Linked DNA regions of Homo sapiens: region 1 is linked to region 2. The links are contacts of gene promoters, found by promoter capture Hi-C in human tissues and cell types (Jung and others, 2019). All regions are on one chromosome and are shown on one strand. Each heading gives the region's core, a stretch centred on a gene start or on the middle of the fragment in contact. The rest is flanking DNA. Distances are from core to core; before and after follow the strand shown.

Region 1 (3,889 bases), core at 1,255-3,754, 61 kb before region 2:
CGTGATCTTACACTCACAGAATGAAATTACAGTCTCCATGCAAACTCAATTCTCTCTGCTGGCCAAGATAAATAAATAAACACAAACTACCAGACTTCACTCTGTCTACGGCAGCCGGGTAGCCGGCAACTTGAAAGAGGTGATTTGCCAAGTCCATCTTGAACAGCCGCTCTGGCAGCCCCCAGCTCCTGCACGTGTGATCGTGCCACGGAGCCTCCCTCTTGCCAAATACACAGCCCTGGAGCAGGGAAAAGGCGCACACAACAGGCGGGACAGAGCGGGCGACGCTGCCAAGGGCTGCAAAGAACCCGTCTGACGCGTCCAGCACCCCTGACCACGTCCGCCCTCGGATGGCCGTGTGGAAAGACACTTAGGCGCCTTCTTGGCACGACTGTGTGGTGTCCTATTCGGAGTCGATCGGAACCACGGCAGCCCGGATCAAGCCTGCTTTAATATGAACAAATTATGCAATGCAAGAGAACTGAACACATTTCCGAAAAAAGAGGACTGCCCACCCAGCAGGGGACAAATGGGCAAGAGGGGCCAGCGATGGTGCCGCTCTCTGCCCATTTCTGCCTTTGTCACCTCTCATCAAACCAACTGAGGAAGTCAGTGCAGCACAGAGGGCAGCAGGAAGGGGATGCTGGGGGGCGGGGCGGCAGTGGTGGGGTGTGGGGGGCGTGCCTGAGCTTGGTGCCAGGTGATGCAGGGACCTGCCGAGTCCCACACGAGCCCCATGCAGAGCCTGGGCTGCTGACCCTACGGCACTGCCAACTCAGCTGGGAGAAGAGTATGCGGGGTCAGTCCCCCAACCGCAGCCCCGACATCACCACGCCACCAAGTCCGGGCACAGTGTGGTGACTTCTCCCCTCCCCGCCTCGACCCAGCACCACCTTGGCATGATGCTGGAGCTCCGGCTGCAGTACCAATCACCTCCCAGGGCCCACACCCCACACCGGGGTCTGCAGCCATGGGACGTCCTGGCCACACAGGCCCCTTCTGGGGGTCCATGCCCACAGCCCAGACTCGCCCGAGACCCACCTCTGGGCCTGGGACCTGCTTCCCCCTGCTCCCTGCAGCCTGCCCCCTCCTGCCAGAGACCCGTCAGCACCCACCCCCAACCCACCCAGTGTCTGGCCTCATCGCTGCCCCAACAGCCAGCCTGCAGGGGCCCCAGTGCCCAAAGCTGGAACAATCTGAGCAATAAGTAAGCGACACGGTATCCGATTCTAACCCAAGTATGAAATTGACACCTGCGAGTCCACATGAACAGAAAGGAATAATTAAATAACCAATGGGAGAACAGACGTACAAGTCCCGTGCAAAACTTGACATCACGTATGTAGCTCCTCACCTCTTAGGTGTGGGCCACGCACGCCTCACTCCGCAGACAGGACAGCACGGGGGAAGAGGCACGGGCAGGTGTGAGCCGACAAACACACCGCGGCCAGGTGACACGCAAGGCCAGCACGGACAGGCTGCGTGGAGGGTGTGGACCTGGACCCAGCGATATAAGGAGGCTTCACCTCCTCCCAAAACACAAGGCCCCAGTCCTTATGAGAAAAACATGAGGCAAACCCCAGCGAAGGGCTGTCCCACAAAACACCTGACCAGCCCTCCTTAAAACTACGAAGGTCGTTGAAAATGAGGCAAGTCTGAGAGACCTGCCACAGTGAGAGGGACCTAAGGAGACGTGACGGCCAAGTGCCACGTGGGGCCCTGGACGGGATCCTGGGACAGAAAGGGGGCAGGAGGGGAGACTGAGGCAAGCGGAATAAAGCCTTAGCTGGAAAGGTGCCGAGACTGGCTGGTGAAGTGTAACTCACGCATTACGCTGACCAGGAGGGAGCAGGGAGGGAATGCTTGTGCTCTACTCCTGTCCTGATTTTTCTGTAAATCCAAAACTGTTCCAAAAACTGGTCTTCCCACCACCCCACTGAACGAGGGGGTGACAGAACTAAACTACCTGGGTCAAGCATTTGAAAACTGCCCCCAGGTCGCACGGGGGGCAGCATCAAGGAAAAACAAACAGAGGGGCCTTTGCCCTCCTTAAAACCCTGCACCACACCCTCCGGCCCCTCAGGATGCAGAGCAGTGGGACGTGCTGGTCCACACCTGCCACGTCCACGCGCACCGCCACGTCCACGCGCACTGCCCCTACCTAAAGACCTTCTCCAACTCTGGTTTTCCTGCATACTTTAGCCTTCAGAAAGCGTCATCACGATGGTTTCCAGGTGGACACAGCAGCTCAAACACATCACTGACTGACTCTCCCTCCCAAGACCAAAGGAAGAAAAACTCCAAAAAACCCGTAACAGCAAAGAGGAGGACAGGCCGGGTAGTGGATGCCCTGGGACCTGGAAGGCAGAGGGCCCCGTGGCCACCAGGAGACTGTACTGGGCCGAACCCCAAAGAAGGGCCCCAAGTCAGAGGCTCCAGGTAGCAGGAAAGTGGGGCACCTGCTGTGCAGGGTCCCAGTCAGTGAGGAGTCGACCCCCAGACCCCCTTCCTCACCCAAAGCAGCCAGGGAACGAGAGGGCTTGCGGGGGCAGCAGACTCCTTACTAGGGGTGAGATGCCCGGCCCTCCCAGGCAGGACACTCCCCTGGGGACTTCCGCCACCACCAGCTCTGTGGTGCCCCACGAGTCAATGTGGGCAGACAAATGCGGGTCACCAGGGGCCCAGGAAGCCGCAAAGGCCAGGACAAACACAAAAAGGGACTCTCGGTGAAAACAGCTGAGTACGAGGCCAAAGAAAACACCAAAAGGAGACGTTATCACCAACCGCTGCCAGCACACATGCTCCCACCATGTGCCGCCATCAGCAGCAGCCGCGGGGCCAGCGTTGTGGCTTAGTTACTGGCTAATCCCATGATAGCCTTGGGAGCCAAGCCTTTTACCATCACGCTCACTTATGAGGGTCCGGGACACGGTGGACAGCGTTGTGGCCGAGGTCACGTGGCTGGTGGGCAGCAGAGCTGGGGCCTGACCACGCAGCTTCAGGCCCTGGGGCACGCGGCAAATAGCGTGGGCTTAAGCCCAGCCCTTGGGGTTTGAGTCCCAGCTCAAACTGTGCGATTCTGGGAAATTTCTTGACCTGTCTGTGCCTCAGTGCTAATCTTTACCCAGAACAAAGAAAACAATGGTGCCCACAAGGAACTGAGAAGATTAAATGAGTTCACACGCGGGAAGCCTCGCAGCCATGAATGTGCTGGGTGCTGCTCAATCACCACATGATACCGCGGTGCTTCTCAGCCGGGACGAATAACCCCAGAGAAAAAGTGCGATATGCCTTTGACACAAGGGCAGGGCACTCTGCCTTAAAAAGGCACCTTCAGGCCGGGCGCAGTGGCTCACGCCTGTAATCCCGGCACTTTGGGAGGCCGAGGCGGGCGGATCACAAGGTCAGAAGATCGAGACCATCCTGGCTAACACGGTGAAACCCCGTCTCTACTAAAACTACAAAAAATTAGCTGGGCGTGGTGGCGGGCGCCTGTAGTCCCAGCTACTCAGGAGGCTGAGGCAGGAGAATGGCCTGAACCCAGGAGGTGGAGGTTGCAGTGAGCCGAAATCACGCCACTGCACTCCAGCCTGGGCGACAGAGCAAGACTCCATCTCAAAAAAAAAAAAAAAAGCCACCTTCAGAGAAAAAAGATCGAAAGACAAGAACGGGAACAAGGCAACAAACTAACAAACTTAACAGATGGTTTGGACAGAGAAACCTGAAGATGTCTCCTAGCATATAACATAAACAAAGAAATGGAAAATAGAGAAGAAAATTAAAGGACCAGCCTGGGAGGGCCAACAAATAATCAGCGTTAACTCTAAAAGAGAGTCAGAGACGGGGAGTCGGCCATGTGATAAATAACTGGGTGTAAAGCTCCTCACAT
Region 2 (3,652 bases), core at 927-3,426:
GACCTGGGGTAATGGCCAGAATGGGTCCCACTGACGTCCAATACAGCTCCAGGACAAGGACCCCGAGACTGAGGGAAGGGAGGGCGGCTGTCCTGGTTTCTGGAGTGTAGGGGCACAGATACAGAGAGGCCCTTCATGGACAGCACCCCGCTAAGTCTGAAGGTGGCCCCTAGGGCTGAGTTGGCAGGTGCTTCCACCCTGGGGAGACCCTCCAGGCCTGCCCCTAGACGCCAAGAGCAGGAGGTTGAGCCCAGCACATGTGTGTGGACAGGATGACCTCAAAGGAGAGGCTGCAGCATGCAGCCAGGTGGTAACTGTTTTTAACTAGAGAGCGAAAGGGGAGCTGAGCAAAGCAGTGCACCTCTCACCAGGCAAGGTGTCCTCCCCAACGGCACCCCTCTTCCAGGGATGGGAGTGACTGCAGGCCCAGAGGCCCCCCACTCCTGGCTGGGCCGTGGCCTTCCAGCTTTCCTGCCCAAGGAAACAGGCACAGAATCCCTTCCCCGTCAGCCCAGGAGCCAGATGCAGGCCAGGATTAAGGATCTTCAGATTTTAGAGCAGGGAAATGGTGGACACAGAGGCTGTGGCTGGGGGCGGCCTGAAGAATTTCCCAGCAGGAAGTGTATATAAATAATCCCAGAAGTAGGATTAATAAAGATGAGAAGAGTCTCACGTCCATGCGGGACGGGACTTGCTGCCAACTGAATTCTGGTGTCGAACTTGGGCTAAAACTTTGGGGTTTCAGAGCCGTCTGGATTTCAGCCTCTTGGCTAAGTGGCCGTGGGCCTGGGCTGGCAGCTGTCCCCATGGCTCCAGCACAGCATCCACAACTGTGCCCCGAGCTTCGTCCTTCCTCTCACCTTGAAGGAGGGGAAGGACAAAGGGAGAAAGGCCCACTGGGATTGATGGAAGAACAAAGCTCTTCCCAGGACACGGGCTGCTTAGAGCCAGGGGCAGTGCCGACCCCGCGGTCTCCTGATGGGCACACGGCTGCAGCTGGACCCAGGCCTTCTGGGCTCTGTCCCCCGCACCTCCAATGGGAAAACTCTGACACACCGCCCCGTGTTGGGTGCTGCCATCTCTACTACGGTCAGCCACCTCTATATCTACATCTTCACGGTCTCTGAGATCCTGAATGCTGGGGGATGGCTCTTTGCTGTTTCTTCTGCAGTCTTTGCACTGAGGTGATTTTCAAAGACGCCCCTAAATGTCCTCTCGTGACTCCTAGGGAAGGCGGCCAGCCAGGCCCCGTGGTGGGGCCAAGTTGCCTGGGTGGCTGAGGAGCCCATTTCAGATCCCCAGAGAGGAGATGGGGGGGCACTGTAGGCCAGAGGGGGCTCCAGCCCCGGGGGGCCTCCTTCTCAGCCTCTTCCTTCTCTGGGGAGTCCCTCCCAAAATAGTTAAGAAATCCACCATCTCTTTTCTGTGGCCAGGGGCACCTGGCCGCCGTCCACCTGCACACACTCAGGAGTTCTGCCCACGCCATTTGAAACGGACTCTGAAAGGAGACCCCGGAGGCCGGGCCCACCCTCCACAGCGAGACAGCCTCCTCCGTCCGTCCCAGACCCTCCGGCTGGGGAAGCTCACTGGGGGAACGGGGAACGGCTCCCCCGCAAAGGGAGCAGCCTCCCCGCACCGAGTTCTCAGGTCTTTCCTCTCCTCAAGGCACCCGCCGGGCAGGGACCCGCGAGTGCCGCGGACCCGGGGACCCTCCACGCGCGCCGCGGAGCAGGGGAACCGGGAGGCTCCGACGCCCTCGCCCAGCCCAGGTTCAGCACCAGGACGGCGGACAGCACCGGGCGGGGGCGGCCAGCGCGGGGGTCGCCGCGTCCCGAGCCCAAGGGCAGCGTCCGGGCGAGTCCAACGAGGGGCCCGCGGGGCAAGACCCCGGGGAGGGAGGACGCGGGGCTCTCAGACTTGGGGTCCGGGGCCCGGGGCTCGCGCCGGCCGCTCTCCCAGCCGCTATCTCGGGCCGACGCGGGCCCCCCACCGCCCCCGACCCCGCGCCGCGCGGACCCCGCCCGCTCACCTGGTGCCGCGGAGCTGCTGCGCGCAGAGGAGCAGGAGCGGGGCCAGCAGCCGGGCGGGCGCGTCCATGGCCGCGGCGGGCTCGGGACGGGGTCCGCGCAAACTTGGCTCCCGGCGGCCGCACAGGCGGCACAGGCGGGCGGGAGCTGAGCGAGCGCGGCGCGGGCGCGAGGGGGCGGACGGAGCGCGGAGCCCGCCCCGAGCCCGCCCCAGCCCGCCGCTCCCTGCAGCCCGGCCCCGCCCGCCGCTCCCCTCTCCTCCCCCCGCCCCCCGCCCCATCCCGCCCCCCTCCGCCAGCCGCGCCCCCTCCCTCGCGGGCAGCTCTCCCTGGCCGGGGTCTGGCTCTCCGGGACCGCTGCCCTCACGCGCCGCAGACGGGACCCTCCGGGTGTCTTCATGGGAGGCGACACCGGCACAAGCCCCGCGTGGACACTGTGGCCCACGGGCGCGGCAGAACCTCGTCCCGAGGCGGTTTGTGGGGGGTCGCACGTCTGCGTGGCTGCTTCTGGCTGCGCCGGCGGTGGGTGGGGAGGGGGCCAGTCCCTGCAGCTGTCAGGAGAGAGACCCCCACCAGCGGCTGCTTCCAAAACCCTCCTGCCTTCGCGGGAGCTGGGGCCAGGCGACTTTGGGAGCAAGTCCTGATCCCTGGGGACCCTCGACGGGGGCGGGGAGAGGAAAAGCAGGTGGGGGCTGCGCCGCAGGCCGCAGTTCTGACTCTCCACACCTCTCATGGCCCCAGGCCCGCCCTCCACACCCCTAGGATCTGGGAAAGGGAAGGCCTCACACTCTCCTGCCTTGGATCTTTTGAACATAAAGTTGCGCTGCCATTTCCTGAAGCTGCTCACAAACTTTAATCATTGTTGTGTCAGTTATTCACTTCTGGGCTCGCGATGTCGCTGACAGCACAGTGTCAACCCCTCGTGAAAACACTTAAAAATGGCGAAGCTGTCCCCGAGGCTGCGTGCTTCTGGATGAAGGGCCCTGGCCGCACAGGGGCAGGTGGAGGAAAGTGCAGAGAGGGATTTGCTTCGGAATTTCCAGCCCAATCCCTACTGTGGGAAGTGGAAGAATGAGGCTGGTTCCAGTTTGCTTGCTTTATTTATGTTATGTTATGTTATGTTATGTTATGTTATGTTATGTTATGTTATGTTATGTTATTTTTCGAGATGGAATCTGGCTCTGTTACCCAGGCTGGAGCACAATCTCGGCTCACTGCAACTTCTGCCTCCCAGGTTCAAGCAAGTCTCCTGCCACAGCTTCCCGAGTAGGTGGGATTACAGGCACCTGCCACCACGCTCGGTTATTTTTTTGTATCTTTAGTACAGACGGAATTTCACCATGTTGGCCAGGCTGGTCTCGAACTCCTGACCCCGTGATCCGCCCGCCTCGGCCTCCCAAAGTGCTGGGATTACAGGCGTGAGCCACTGCACCCAGCCCTAGCCTGCTTTCTTAAATCAAGGAACGGGGCTCTAACAAGCCCAACAGGTCTCAACTCCAAGGCCCCCTTCCCGGCTGCTCACTGGCCCCTGCCGAGAGGGGTCCTTTGGGTACAGAAGCACTGACCTCCCTGTGTTCCCGGGGTTCCTGTCCGAGCCTGTGCTCTGCACACGTGCCCCTTCCCACG

The links. Contacts are between HindIII fragments. The study calls those that stand out against the background at their distance.
Region 1: a contact is called between a fragment that was not itself captured here and the fragment with the promoter of GABRD in region 2, in 1 of the 25 tissues and cell types used here (dorsolateral prefrontal cortex).

Annotation. Positions count from the first base shown.
Region 1 is chr1:2,078,589-2,082,477 of GRCh38, reverse strand. All of the region lies in intron 4 of PRKCZ (protein kinase C zeta), which reads right to left. Among named protein-coding and RNA genes, the nearest start is that of PRKCZ, 30 kb to the right of the region's middle. The HindIII fragment of the contact is 6,733 bases long and covers 1-3,889 here.
Region 2 is chr1:2,017,869-2,021,520 of GRCh38, reverse strand. It overlaps GABRD (gamma-aminobutyric acid type A receptor subunit delta), which reads right to left and starts at 2,176. Exons shown (of 9, transcript NM_000815.5): 1 at 2,030-2,176. The coding sequence starts at 2,097. LOC105378589 (a long non-coding RNA gene) reads left to right here and starts at 3,433. Exons shown (of 2, transcript XR_001737844.3): 1 at 3,433-3,652. RefSeq lists enhancers at 2,004-2,581, 2,582-3,160. The HindIII fragment of the contact is 31,331 bases long and covers 1-3,652 here.